Regions from separate parts of the Homo sapiens genome. Here all the other regions are linked to region 3. Evidence: promoter capture Hi-C in 16 types of primary human blood cells and fetal thymus (Javierre and others, 2016). All regions are on one chromosome and are shown on one strand. Each heading gives the region's core, a stretch centred on a gene start or on the middle of the fragment in contact. The rest is flanking DNA. Distances are from core to core; before and after follow the strand shown. Region 1 overlaps USP13 (ubiquitin specific peptidase 13). Region 2 overlaps PEX5L (peroxisomal biogenesis factor 5 like). Region 3 holds the start of CCDC39 (coiled-coil domain 39 molecular ruler complex subunit). Region 4 overlaps PEX5L (peroxisomal biogenesis factor 5 like).

Region 1 (3,292 bases), core at 479-2,978, 910 kb before region 3:
TTGGGAATACCTGATCACTTTACAATATTGAGTTTTTCTAGCCAGAAACATATGCTTCTCCTTTGATTTATTCGCCCCTTTTCTAACTCTTGCAAAGCTGTATGGTTTTCTTCATAAATATGCTAGGCATTTCTAGTTTAGTTATATCTCGAAATTACATTTTCACTGTTACTTATGAATACAAATTTTCCCCATTGTATATTAAACATTGCTGCTAAATTATATAAAGGTACCGATTTTGTAATTGGCCATTCTCTAGGGGTTTGACTGGCATTACATTAAATTTATAGGTTAACCTGGGAAGATGTGTGTTCTGTTTAGCTAGGTTGTTTAAATTCCCAAGTCATTTCTTTTTACTTTTTCTGGTTGGTGAATTGACTGAGGTATATGACTTGAGAATTTTTTTTTTTTTTGAGATGGAGTCTCGCTCTGTCGCCAGGCTGGAGTGCAGTGGCGCCATCTCAGCAAACTGCAACCTCCAACTCCCTGGTTCAAGCTATTCTCCTGCCTCAGCCTCTGGAGTAGCTAGGATTACAGGCACGCGCCACCACACCCAGCTAATTTTTATACTGTTTTTAGTACAGATGGGGTTTCACCATGTTGGCCAGGATGGTCTCCATTTCCCGACCTTGTGATCTGCCTGCCTTGGCCTCCCAAAGTGCTGGGATTACAGGTGTGAGCCACTGCACCCAGCTGAGAATATTGAATACAATTAAAGAGTAGGGGTAATTGGTGTTTGAGGAACCAAAACAAACAAAATAAAAACAACTTCAGTTTTCAGGGTTTTAAGTGGCAAGAAGTCCAAGACAAATCTGTCTAAGCAAAAAGGGAAATATTTTCTCATGAAAGCTGGCAAGTCCTGGGGGCACTGGGCTGCAGGCCTGCCGTGATTCAGGACTCAAATCCTTTTAGCTGGATGGGCCCCTTGGCTCTGCTTCCTCTAGGTTGGTTCCAGTCCCAGACAGGCTCTCCCTAATGGCACAAGATGGCTGCAGCGCCTCCCACAACTATATCTTTCCAGGTTAAAATCTAGCTAAGTCTTGTCCCAGAGTTCTCAGCAAAGGTCCTGAGAGCCTGAGACTCTGTGAGACTCCGTTATGTGCCCTGTCCTACTCCAAGTCACTGAGGCAGGTTGATTCAGGCCTGCATTATGGGCCTCACTCCTAGAACCTGAGGGTGGAGACATCTTCCATCCTCTCACCTGAGCTGAGAAGGGACAGGTTGATCTCCTTCAAGCACTGGTTCAAGTGTGGTTCGGACTAATAGAATCACCTGAGAACTTGTTAGGACTGATGTTGCCCCACTTCAGACCTGCTGAATTAGGAACTCTGGGTGAGGCCCAGTAATCTGTGTTTTAACAGGACATCCAGGTGATTCTGATGCAGCTTAAACTTGAGAATTACCACCTTAAAAGCAGTGTTAGGTTACTGTTGCTTTAAGAAGGAGGGTCGTGGCTACTGGGACTTTGTCACACCAGGTTAACACTGAAATAATAAGGTAGGTGTTATGAAGTGGAAAAAAGCTATTATTACAAGGGTAGGGATTAAAGAAGTACAGGTATCAAATTTTTCCTTTTAGGAATATGTTAATTAAAAATCACTGTTTCCATTTTTCTGAATGTGGAAGTAATGCTACTGCATGAAACGATTATCTAAATGGCGTCTAATTTGTTTAAAAAGGTTAGTGCTATTAACACTTGATGAAATAGTGGCTGTCATTTCCTGAATGCCTCCTCTGTGCCAGGCACTTCCTTGACCACTTTTCCTTCACTGCTTATAGGGAGGTATTCTGATGAGGAAGTGGTGACAAAGCTAAGTGGTTTGCTAGTGGTAGAACCAGGTTAGAATTCAGGCCTGTTTGATTTTGAAGGCTGTGCAGTTTTTCCTTTATCCCCGATTGAGTCATCTTATTTCACATTTTGTATTGGAATGGAGACGAGAGTCTATTTTCTACCATGTTCTGCACATTTTAGGGCTAGCACCTAACTTTCTGTTGAGTTTTTTAAAACTTTAAAGCTAGAAATCAGGCCGTCACTCTGACCTATCGGGGCTTCTGCTATGTGCAAAATCATTTCTGTTTTCATGTTTCACTTAATGAGCATTTAATTTTTCTTAAGAAAAGAACTCACTGATTGCCAATGAAATTAACATGTGATTAGGCTGTGATTACTCAGAGCCTGCTCTGGCTCCTTCAGCCACTTTGGTGTAATGGTTTAGATGTCTCCGATGCTGCTGAGATTTTCCAGGCAGGGAGCAGAGAGGCGTTCATTTGCATAACGCTGGGGTTCCTGAGGTGCTGAGCTCCCTGAGGAATGCCACCCAGAAGAGGATCTAGGGGGCAAAAGGTACAGCTCCCCAGGGAAGCTAAGCCCCAGTGGTCGACTGGAAAGTCACATAGACACTTCATGCCACTGGTGCTAATTCTCCTCCCACTTAGCACTTGTTGCAGTTCCTAATTTTTTCAGCGGTGCTGTTGAAAGTTAAGAGGCAGCCACTCTTGAGTAAACTGATTTACACTGAAGGATAAATGATGGAGAACTATTAGACTTGGAAGGAAGTGTTTGCCTTTCGGAGCATTCGGCATTGTAACCGAGAGACTGGTAATTTGGAGCTGGCTAGGGTTGGGGGAAGCAATTCGTAGACCCTTTACAATTCTGTTGCTATCAGCTGCCTTCCGATGTTATTGATTTACCTAGGTCTGTCTTCTCTTTTTGAGAATTCAGAAATTTCTGAAAGCTCCAAATACTCCTCCCTCCCACACTGTTTTTTCTCAGAGAGGGCATGAGGGGAAATCAAGCTGTTGGAGAGATTGAACTTGTTGTATATTGCGCCTGATATACTTTGGATGTTTGTCCCCTCCAAATCTCATGTTGATATGCAAACTGCAGTGTTGGAGGTGGGACCTGGTGGGAGGTGTTTGGGTCATGGGAGTGGATCCCTCATGAATACCTTGTGGGGGAAAAGCATATCCCAGATAAATACCCAGATATTGGGTGCTTATGAGGCAAATGTTAGTAAGTTGGCAATTTTATTTCCCCCGCTTTGTACAGAGGGAGTTAGAGATAGGCAATGACACAAATTAATCAAGTAAAGAGCATTGGATGAGAACCCAGTTTTTCTCACCAGAGGACTGCTGTGCCTCTGGGGTCTTGGTAGTTATTTTAGGGAGTGTTTTGATGTCTCTGTGTTCTGAGCACTCTCTGTAGACTAACTAAATAATGCGTCATGCCCTGATGAGATACTGCTGCTTTGTAAATATTTTAGATGCTATAATGGCTTATAAAATTAAATTC
Region 2 (3,398 bases), core at 70-2,569, 880 kb before region 3:
CTATAATCATGAGCGGGATGAGCTATTATTATCAAAGAACATAAATAAAAAGTTGTTAGGATTAGCTACTGTGGGGAAGGTTCTAGACGAAGGAAGGAGACCAGGTAAAGAAGAATGGGATAACTTCTATACCTGACATTGGGAAAATTATATTCTGATTAGCATTTTGCAAAAAATGTTCCTAATTCTTTAAAAAATGTATCTTTCAAAATAATCACCAAGCCCCAAACACATACAAAACACTGTGGAGAACTAAGTGGAATTCAACCAATTAAAACACCACTGCTAATAGAAAATTCCCAATACTTGCTAAATGTTCAAAGAGCCAAAGAGGCATGCATCTTTCATATGAAATCACTGGCATTCAGTGAGATTTGGTTTGAAAGTGTTGCTCTTCTATCACTTAGAATGCAAGGGGATGAACAGTGCAGATTATTATGAAACTAAGAAAACATAATTTTTAGGAAAAAATGTTATTTATCACTCTTAAGAAATATTATTTAAAATATTTATGGTTTAAAAGGAATATTGGTGTGCAGGGCAAAGCCAGTAAAGTATGACACTTAAGCAAGTTAATTTGAACTCAATAGAAATCACGATACCATCAAACTTTCTTCCTGCAGAGAATGCATGAAGAGACAGTACCTTGTGTCTTACTTATGTTCATACAGACCCAGAAAGCACGTGAATGAAAAGATCTGTTTGCCATATTTACGCCTTATGTCATCGTATCTGCTTTAAGAAAAACACTTCTTCAAAATCCTACACTATGAAAAACTGTCTTCAGGAATTGTTTATTTGGTCCGTTGATCTAGTGAGGCTGAGTTCTTAAATCTTTCACCCCCAAGTTAAAAATTGGAGCAACAAAACAAAACTCCAGCAAGGCATAAATAAGATATTAAAGTGCATATATACAATACCAGAAAAGTTTAGATTGGGAACAGCAAAAATTTCTAGTGCAAAAACTGCTTTTGCCAGCAAAGCTCCCTCTCTGGAATCAAAGGGCTACAGTAAAAGTTAAAATTGGAACAGGTTTAAGCAATGTCTGTCTTTAGTCACAAGTTAATATATGTGCATGCACCAATGGCCCAAACTATGTTCAGTCTTGCAAAAGAAGACAGTTCAGAAACAGTCAGAATTTCCCAATCTGAGGCAGTGCTTTTTCCATGTTTCCCATGAACAAGTTCCTCAGATGTGTCATCAGCTGCAAGGGGAGACAAAAAACCCAAAGAACATGTGTTGCAATATGCTTGCAACTTGTGGAAAGAGTATTCAACACACAGTTACTTTATCTTGGTTTGTCTTGAGTCTCTTAATTCTTCTTTTGAGCCTGACTTTGACTCTATATACAACATTTTGTGCTTTTGGATCTGAACAGAGACTGGGCATTGTCCACAGGAATTAATTTCCTTGGGCTATATGACCATGGCCTTTTGAATATTTGATTTATCCTTTTGAAATTCATAATAAAATAGTTTTTGATTTTTCAGTACAATCACACAGATCAGGGATTATTAGTACTGGTATTATTCTTTCTTCAAGGATCCAAGTTGAAAGCTCTTAAGAGGACATCCAGGTCACCAAGATTAGCCGCCTGGAAGAGTTCTGGTTGGTCCATCAGAGAGAGCGCAATTCTGAGGGCAGCCCAGATATTCCCAGAGATTGCAGGATGAGGAACTTGCTGCTGATTCCTGCTCTTTCTTTGCAAACTGAGGGCAGTGAGAAAATTGCTGACCGCTTCTCTAAGAAGGTAGAAAAACATATTTTAAAATGAGTCACATTTCAGAGTTAGCAAATGTAAACAAAACAAAACAAAATTGGATTAAGTGATTTTAATCTAAAATCTTAAATCACCTCTTACGTGTTCTGGATGATCAAATGAACAACTTTCTAATTCTCTTATATTCTTTAGTGAGCAATCATTGTTAAATACAGTGAGGTCAGAAAGAAAAAAGAAAAGCAGGCTGGACATGGTGGCTCAAGCCTGTAATCCCAGCACTTTGGGAGGCCAAGGCAGGTGGATCACTTGAGGTCAGGAGTTCAAGATCAGCCTGGCCAACATGGTGAAACCCTGTCTCTACTAAAAATACAAAAAATAGCCAGGTGTAGTGGCATGCCCCTGTAATCCCAGCTACTAGGGAGGCTGAGGCAGGAGAATGGCTTGAACCCAGGAGACAGAGGTTGCAGTGAGCCGAGATCACACCACTGCCCTCCAGCCTGGGCAACAGAGTGAGACTGTCTCAAAAAAAAAAAAAAAAAAAAAAGAAAAGAAAAGAAAAGAAAATTTTATTTTAGGAATGTCACGTGGGAGAGAAAGAATAATAGCAAAACCATGCAAATTCATTAATGCATTCGATTTTCCTCTGCTCTAGGAATGATTTGAACACTTAATGCATTTGCAGATTTGATTTCTATAACTAGGTTTAAGAGGAAGAATATAGCCCTACTTAAAAACAAAGTGGTCTAATTTTTCCCATTAGTGCTAGATGTATGGAACACAGCTAGAGTAGATTGAGTTTATTACTGGGCACCTGTCTTGAATCCCAGTTATTTAGCAGTAGGCAAATTTCTTGTTTTTTTTTTTTCCAAGGATTACTTTCCCTGAGTGTGTAATAGGGATAATCAAAGGCATTTAAAAACTTTGTGAGGTGCAGTTGAATCAATCTACATGAAAGCTCTTATCACTGAGTAAGATCAATAGTCCTCAAAGTGTGGTCTGGAGAAGCTTGGGAATCAATGAGGTCAAAATTATTTTTATGATAAAGCTAATATGTTATTTGATTTTTTTGCTTTCATTTTCTCACATGCTTACAGTGGAATTTTCCAGAGACTACATGGTGCATGATATCGCAACAGACTGACTGCAGAAGCAGGTGTGAGAGTGTGTCTTCTAGTAAGCAAGATATGAAACAAACTTGCAAAAATGTGAAACAATGTCACTTTTCCCACTAGACTGTTTGTGTTTTGGAAAATATTTTTTGTAAAAAATATTATTTATGATAACATGTAGTGAGTTTTATTCTTTTTAAATGAATCTTTAACAATGTTTTCAGTTTAATTTCCAATACGGTAAATATTGATAGATATAACCCACATAAACAAAAGCCCTTTTAGGTTCTCAATAATTATTAAAAGTGTAGAGGGGTCCTGAGAACACCAAGTCTGAGACAAGCCGAGTTAGATGCTGTCTGAAGTCCTTCTAGCTCCTCTAGCCCACTAGTCCACTCTGTTGCTCAGGTGCCAGGTGCACCTGCTGGGTCTGCCCTCTTCAGCAGCCCCATTTCACCCCAACCTTGTTGAGTATATCTGACACACTGATCCTTCCGAAGAATAATCATGCCACTTTAATTTGCATCCACTTTACTGTTCTCAAAAACTTTTCATACCCTTGATCTCAT
Region 3 (3,292 bases), core at 32-2,531:
CTCGGTACTCAGTGCTAGATCCCTTACATTTCCTAATATTGCCCTCCTTTGGGGAAAAATTGCAGTCTTCTAAATTACACATGAGTAAATAGGTCAGAACGTGTTAAAAAGCATTTCCATTGTTTTCAAAAGGTAGAGTAACAGGATTTTCATTTTCCTTTTTTAGAGCTGAGAAAACTTTCTGTTCCGTTTTACAAAGTTGTGTAAGCATCATCTGTTATTCTTGGACCTTCTTCTACACAACATATCACCACCAAAGTTTTTCAAAATTTGCTGACCCGGTTGCAATTTTTTATTTTTTTATTTTTTCGTAGAGACGCGGTGGGAGGGGTTTGTGGGGGGTCTCGCTTTGTTGTTCAAGCTTGTTTTACTCCTGGCTTTTAGGGTTCCTCCGCCTCAGCCTCCCAAAGTGCTGGGATTACAGGTGTGAGCCACTGCGCCCGGCCTGCAATTTTTTTTTTTTTAACAACTGCTATGAATTGTAGTTAGTGTAAGTTCGTCCTTGCAACGTAAAATTTCTTATGTTAATCTGTGACAACTCAATCTTCTCTTTGAAAAACTGTAAACCGCACATTTCATTCTTACCGGGCTGTTCCTCTTGAAAACATCTCAAGTCACTTTCAGCTTTAAACATTACAGACAAAAACTCACAAAGAAATATGAACCTTCTGGAGTTTAATTTATAAACGTGCGCAAATAACCGTTGCTATGCAAACCTCAGAAATTCTTTTCCAAGTAGCTCTTTAATTTTTGAGCAAGGAAAAAGCGGGCGCCGGAACCAGCCTTTCCTCTCTCGCCAGGAGGAACGAAATAAGTAAGAGGAGTGGGCATGAGGAAGGGAGTAATAATTCGAGCTTTATAACCCTAAATGTCAATTATGGTTTTAATAGCATTTTTAAATGCTTAACAATTACTGAAATAGGCAGAGAGGGTAAGGGAGGAGGGCGATGGTGCGGGGGAGTGTTAGAGGAAGCACAGGATTAGGAAAGGAGAGAAATAAAAGGGCTGGGGTAGTACTGCCAACCAGAAAACGCCCCCAACAGGCTCTCTCTGCTTCCTCCCGCCTGCTTCAATTGATCTCACCTGATCTTCCAGTAGCTTGTTCTCCTCGTTCGCCACCGGGATGGCGAACCCATCCTCCCAGTGCAGCTCAGCCAGGAATTCGCTACTCATGACTGCAAACGGATAGAGAAGATACAGAGCAAAGATCCGCCTTCTTGTACAGCGGGTGAGCAGCACCCGCGTCAAGCCCAGGCACCTGCACAGTGCCGCGGCAATTGCCGGGGGAGCCCTAGCAACCTTCCCGCGTCCTTAGTTACCAAACAGGAAACGCTCCAGCCCGAAGGCGAAACTTCCGGTTGAGAACTCCCTGCCTGCAGGCCGAAGAATCTTTTTCTTACCTTGAGCACTGAGGGATGAGCAGCAACTTGCCCCTCCCGACGTTCCCGGGGGTTGCCAGGCGGCAGCGTAACTTTCCACGAAAAGGCGGCTCTCGGATCGCTCCCGGAGCGTGTGAAAACTGTGGCCCCCGGAGCTGGCTGGAGGACCACGGGGCAGCTGGCTGGAAGTAAACCACACGATCCTCCGATTGCCTGGGGGAAGACGGGAGCCAACAGGGATTATAAACTAAGTTTCTTTTCAAGGTGTGTTTGCTGTGTTGTGTAGATTTCAGCTACTACAGTAGGTGAAAGTAGACCGAAGTGAACTGGTGTTTGGAAACAACTCTCTCTCTGGCATCACTGGGATGTTCTGATCGTCGCCTGTTTCAGTCGGCCAGCCTTCCTCACCGCACTCACCGGCCCCATCGCGGATGTCCCAGTCGATCACAGACGCGGACCGCGCGGAGGCCGCACACTTGTGGCGCGGTGTGGTGGTCCCTCCGGCACCACTCCCATACTTGCATTTTTCTTTGCATTTTTGTTTGCTAACATTTAAAGTGTGGAATTTCGCATAAACGTCTGTATTTCCTCTGCTTGAAAAAGGGTAGGTGACACAATCCCCATTATCAAAAGGCAATGTTCCGCTGGAGAGGCGCCCCCTTTAGACCAACAAAGCACTTTACCAGTTCACTAATTTGAATTACCTGCTTGGCACGGGTAGGCATTTGAGTTATAGTCTCTCTTGTATAGTATCTCAGAACTGGAAAGGACAAAACAATCAACTAATCTAATCCTTTCATTTTCTCGGTAAGTTAAACCGAGGCTCCTTGAGGCAAAGTGATTAAAGAAGGGATGCTGTGCATGAATTAATTTTACGTATCCAATAATCATCTGTAATTTTTTTTGCTCTTTCGAATTTTATTTTACCTAGACATTGTTAAACTTTTATTATAAATATTTTAAATGTATATGGGAATAGAAAGCAGAGTATAAATAACTGCTATATATGCATCACCTTGATTTAGCATTCATATTTTGCCATGTTAGCATCATCTGTATCTTTTGCTCAAGTGAAAAAATAATCATAGACATCATGACATTACAGCCCTAAATACATGAGCATGTATTGGTAGAAGAGTGGTTAATGTTATCTAACATAAGCACAATATCATTATCACACCTATAAAAATCAACTATTCTTCAATATCATCTAATAACCATTTCAGATTCATATTTCGACTGTCCTAAAAATGTCTTTTTACAGTCGATTTGTTTGTCACTATAGTTCTGAAATCCTCCTGTAGGAGCTTTGTCTCTTTGTGCCTACATTGTTTTCCATAAACTTAATCTTGTGGACTTAGTGCCTTTAAAGACTAGAATTAGCAAAGCATTTTATTCCCCCTTTCTACAATGATTAAAGGCTGGGGAGAAAGGCTCAACTTGTAGAAGAAATTTGACCTGCATGTAATAGTGGAATTTTAGATATAATGACATTTAATCCTTTATAAATGATCATTACTTATTTTATAATAGTTTAGTCATTCCAACTAATGAAAATGTTAGTATTCAGCTTATGTTAAGATGGTACATAGTTATTTATACTTGGGATATGTTGTGGCAATGCTGCTTTCTAAAATTATTGGTGTTGGGTCAAAGGTGGGGAGGAAAATGGCAGAACAAGACTTCCAGCAATCAGCCCTCACAGAAACATCAATTGGAACAAAACTATTCACCTACGAAAATACCTTCACAAGAGCTAAGGAAACCAATCACATTTAATTACCTTTTAATACAGCAAAAAGTAAAAATAAAATAATTGGTATTATCACCCATGTATCTTAAAATTACCTAATTTACCATCCCAGTTTTTAATATGAATACTGAGCTGCCTCGACCTGTGCCAATGAGTTGAA
Region 4 (3,099 bases), core at 217-2,716, 750 kb before region 3:
CTGTGAAATGAATGAGTAGATACAAAATAAAATATTGTTTAACCGTGTAAACTTTCTGGGTAATTTTGGAAATGGCTTCAACTCATAGAAATGGTCACCATCCAAAACAATTTTTATGATTTCTGGGTAATGCCCCATTTTAGTGTGTTTAGGAAAAAAGTAATGGTGTGGACTTAGGCAGATCCGGGTCTCAGTTTTGAATATATATGTCCTTGGAATTTTTAAGCAAATTGTTTAAACTCTCTGGAAGTTAGTTTTCTCAGTTAAAAAATGAAAGTTTGAATTTTGTGAGCTCAAATTATTTTTAATTATCTATTAATTAAACAAGTATTTACTGAGCATGTAGTATGTCCTAGGCATTTGGGATCGCTGGTGAACAAGACTGATGCCATCACTGTAAGCTTACAGCTTAGTGAAGGACTCGGGTTCTTCCAAATGGTGAAACGTGTGATAAAGAGAGGCACATGGTACAATGGAGCACAGACAGGGACCCTGACTAAGTGTAGGCTCTCAGGGTAAAGACAGAGGCTGTGGCTTGAGATCTGAAAGATAGTTACGATTAACTAGGCACAGAGGGGTTGGGAGTCCTGCCAGTGTAAGGAGAGAGGCATGTTCTAAGAAGGGAAACAGGCCAGTGTGGCTGCCTGCAGAGAGTGATAGGGAGAGGTAGGCAGGGGCTAGCCTGTGTCACTCAGAGAGTGGTATGTGGACTGTGAACTGTTTGCTACCTTACTGGGGATGAGGCAAGTATAAAAATTGGAAGTCTACATTGTAGAAATTTTTGTAGCCATTTCACAAAGTAATTTTATGTTTGTTAAACTAATAATAAAATTGGGCTTGCATTTTGTGTGACTTTTTCCATTTCATTTATTTGAAAAATTAATTGTTATTTTCTTTATAAAATCATCAATCTGCAAGGAATTGGACATTAAAAAAACAAAACCAAACAAAACCTGCCCTTCACCATCGTTTGTGTAACCTTGCAAGCTAAGTTAAAGATTTTGGTTTTCATCTTATGAGAAATAGTGTAAACTGTAGCAAATGCTCATGTCACTAGCACACTAGTTTGCTGTTTAAATGGGGGAAGTTTTAGCCAATAATTTTCTTTTCTATTGTAATTATTTAACCTAATATATCAAAAATTATCATTTCAATATGTGATCATAAAATATTATTAATGAAGTATATATTTCTGGGACTAAATCTTTCCAAGTCACTCTGTATGTTAAGCTTCCAGCACATCCCAATTTAGGCAATGCATTTGAATGCACAGGTCTTGTTTCCCCACTTTTATTTATGTTAAGGTTGATCAGTGGGTCCAGGGACTATCTGCCTGTTCCTTTCATATAATTGTTTAACATTTGCCAACAATTCTCTTTACTTCAGTAATAGTTGAGTAAAACCAGTTTGCACGCTTACAGGAAGCCAGATTGTGAGCCTTTGGGTGGGCTTATATGCTCCTGCATCACCAGAGCCTACTTTATTACAGAGAGAAGCTCAATAATATTTGCCAGATTAAATTACAACCATAATTCAGAATAGCCATTCTCAACATTTTCAGCCTGTGATCCAACTGGGAACACCTGTACCCATCCCTTTTGGAGGAGGTCCCAGGAGACAAAGAGCCATTTACAAATGGCTGAGGGTGGGGACTGAGAGAGTGCTAGGGCCTCTCGGGGACACACACCCTTCCTTCCCCACTTAAGCTTCAAACAATGTGTCGAGGGGCCTTTAAAAACCATTTACAACAAATGGTGGGTAGGCAGTGGACAGCATTTAAACAGTTGTGTATCTGAGTTACAATCTCAACTCTCCAACTGATTCTGGATTGAATTTTAAGCATTTTCCATCATTTCCTGCAAGCAACCATCACCTACCACCGGAAGCACAGTTCTGTGTTAGATCTAAAACTCAGTGATTCTTATAAAAACCCAGCAGTCCCTTTTGATGTGACAGAGAAAAATTGAGGGCAAAGACCTAGAGTTGGCTTATACTCATTCCATTTTATCACATAAAGAACAAAACTACTGGAGCACAAGCCCCAGTTTTTGCTGAAGGCAATTAAATCCTAACCCATTCCAGCAAAATCATCAAGATCCAGGCTTGAAGCCCCTCCATGCCATTACCTTTCCATACATTCTCCTTAGTCTGATGACTGAAATTTGTAAACAGCTGTCCCTGTCATTAGTGTGAGTTACTGAGAATCCAGCTGTAATTCTATTCTTCTTTTCTAACTCTGTTAAGTTATATCCAAAAAGGGAAACATGTCAGGCCAGTAGGGCTCACATGATAATGACTTATTCCATCAAGTCTCAATAATCTTCTAATGAAGAAAAGTACCGGCAAGGATTACCTAAACCAAGGGATAATCCTAAGTGACATGTTTAGAAACCCTGATTTTTTTTTAAGGGATTAGCTCTAGCCTCCCAAACAGTTAAAAATCAGGTTGCTTCCCTAGCTGACAGCAGGGGGCAGCAGATCAGAGTCAGTTCTGTGCAAGTGGTTTCAAGGATGGAAAATCTGTGATGGAAAAATCCTCAAAGTACTTAAATCTAAATATAGAAAACCTAAAAGTTGATTCCTCATTTAAAATTTATTTGACAAAAGAGTAGAGCTAAGTATAAAGAATTTTGCATTTATTTTCAGTCCATATTCTGTATTACATTTATTTTACAGTTCATATTGCATTAGGTTGCATCTTGTGAAGTTGCCATTTTTTTTTTTTTTTTGGTAAGTCAGAAGCTGTTAAATATTGGTAATTTCATAGGATTAAACCTTATAGTTTGGAGCAGCATTTAGATATAGAACTACTCTTTAAGTATACACAAAGAACAGGCACATGTTTGCATTTGGCAACCGCCCCTGGTTCAGAGAGATGATTATGAGTCCCTGTGGACGTTAAGATCAGTTCCTGCCTAATGCCCCTGCCCCTGCCTCTTCCTGCTCCCTAAAACTGGGATCATGGATAACCTTCAACTCCCATGACATCTTTTCCCAAACCAATCACATCTCCAGTGTCAGTCACTCTGTCCCCACCCACGTTTTTTAAATCTGTCCCGGTGACCTGCGTAGACCTATCTTGCTCTTTCTGGTTCTCTT

Evidence for each region. The method cuts DNA at HindIII sites, captures the fragments that hold promoters and counts their contacts. A CHiCAGO score of 5 or more calls a contact.
Region 1: a contact is called between a fragment that was not itself captured here and the fragment with the promoter of CCDC39 in region 3, in 2 of 17 cell types (M2 macrophages and M1 macrophages). The highest score is 5.8, in M2 macrophages.
Region 2: a fragment that was not itself captured here is called in contact with the fragment with the promoter of CCDC39 in region 3 in 1 of 17 cell types (endothelial precursors); the score reaches 5.3 in endothelial precursors.
Region 4: a fragment that was not itself captured here is called in contact with the fragment with the promoter of CCDC39 in region 3 in 1 of 17 cell types (endothelial precursors); the score reaches 5.2 in endothelial precursors.

What each region holds. Positions count from the first base shown.
Region 1 is chr3:179,770,211-179,773,502 of GRCh38, forward strand. All of the region lies in intron 19 of USP13 (ubiquitin specific peptidase 13), which reads left to right. Among named protein-coding and RNA genes, the nearest start is that of USP13, 120 kb to the left of the region's middle. The HindIII fragment of the contact is 4,298 bases long and covers 1-3,292 here.
Region 2 is chr3:179,800,291-179,803,688 of GRCh38, forward strand. It overlaps PEX5L (peroxisomal biogenesis factor 5 like), which reads right to left. Exons shown (of 15, transcript NM_016559.3): 15 at 1-1,742. The coding sequence ends at 1,538. Among named protein-coding and RNA genes, the nearest start is that of PEX5L-AS2, 96 kb to the right of the region's middle. The HindIII fragment of the contact is 2,808 bases long and covers 1-2,723 here.
Region 3 is chr3:180,678,208-180,681,499 of GRCh38, forward strand. It overlaps CCDC39 (coiled-coil domain 39 molecular ruler complex subunit), which reads right to left and starts at 1,282. Exons shown (of 20, transcript NM_181426.2): 1 at 1,084-1,282. The coding sequence starts at 1,173. CCDC39-AS1 (CCDC39 antisense RNA 1) reads left to right here and starts at 1,874. Exons shown (of 2, transcript NR_046725.1): 1 at 1,874-1,983. RefSeq lists enhancers at 1,554-1,653, 1,734-1,783. The HindIII fragment of the contact is 3,343 bases long and covers 360-3,292 here.
Region 4 is chr3:179,926,777-179,929,875 of GRCh38, forward strand. The region is part of intron 2 of PEX5L (peroxisomal biogenesis factor 5 like); the gene reads right to left. Among named protein-coding and RNA genes, the nearest start is that of PEX5L-AS2, 30 kb to the left of the region's middle. The HindIII fragment of the contact is 476 bases long and covers 1,229-1,704 here.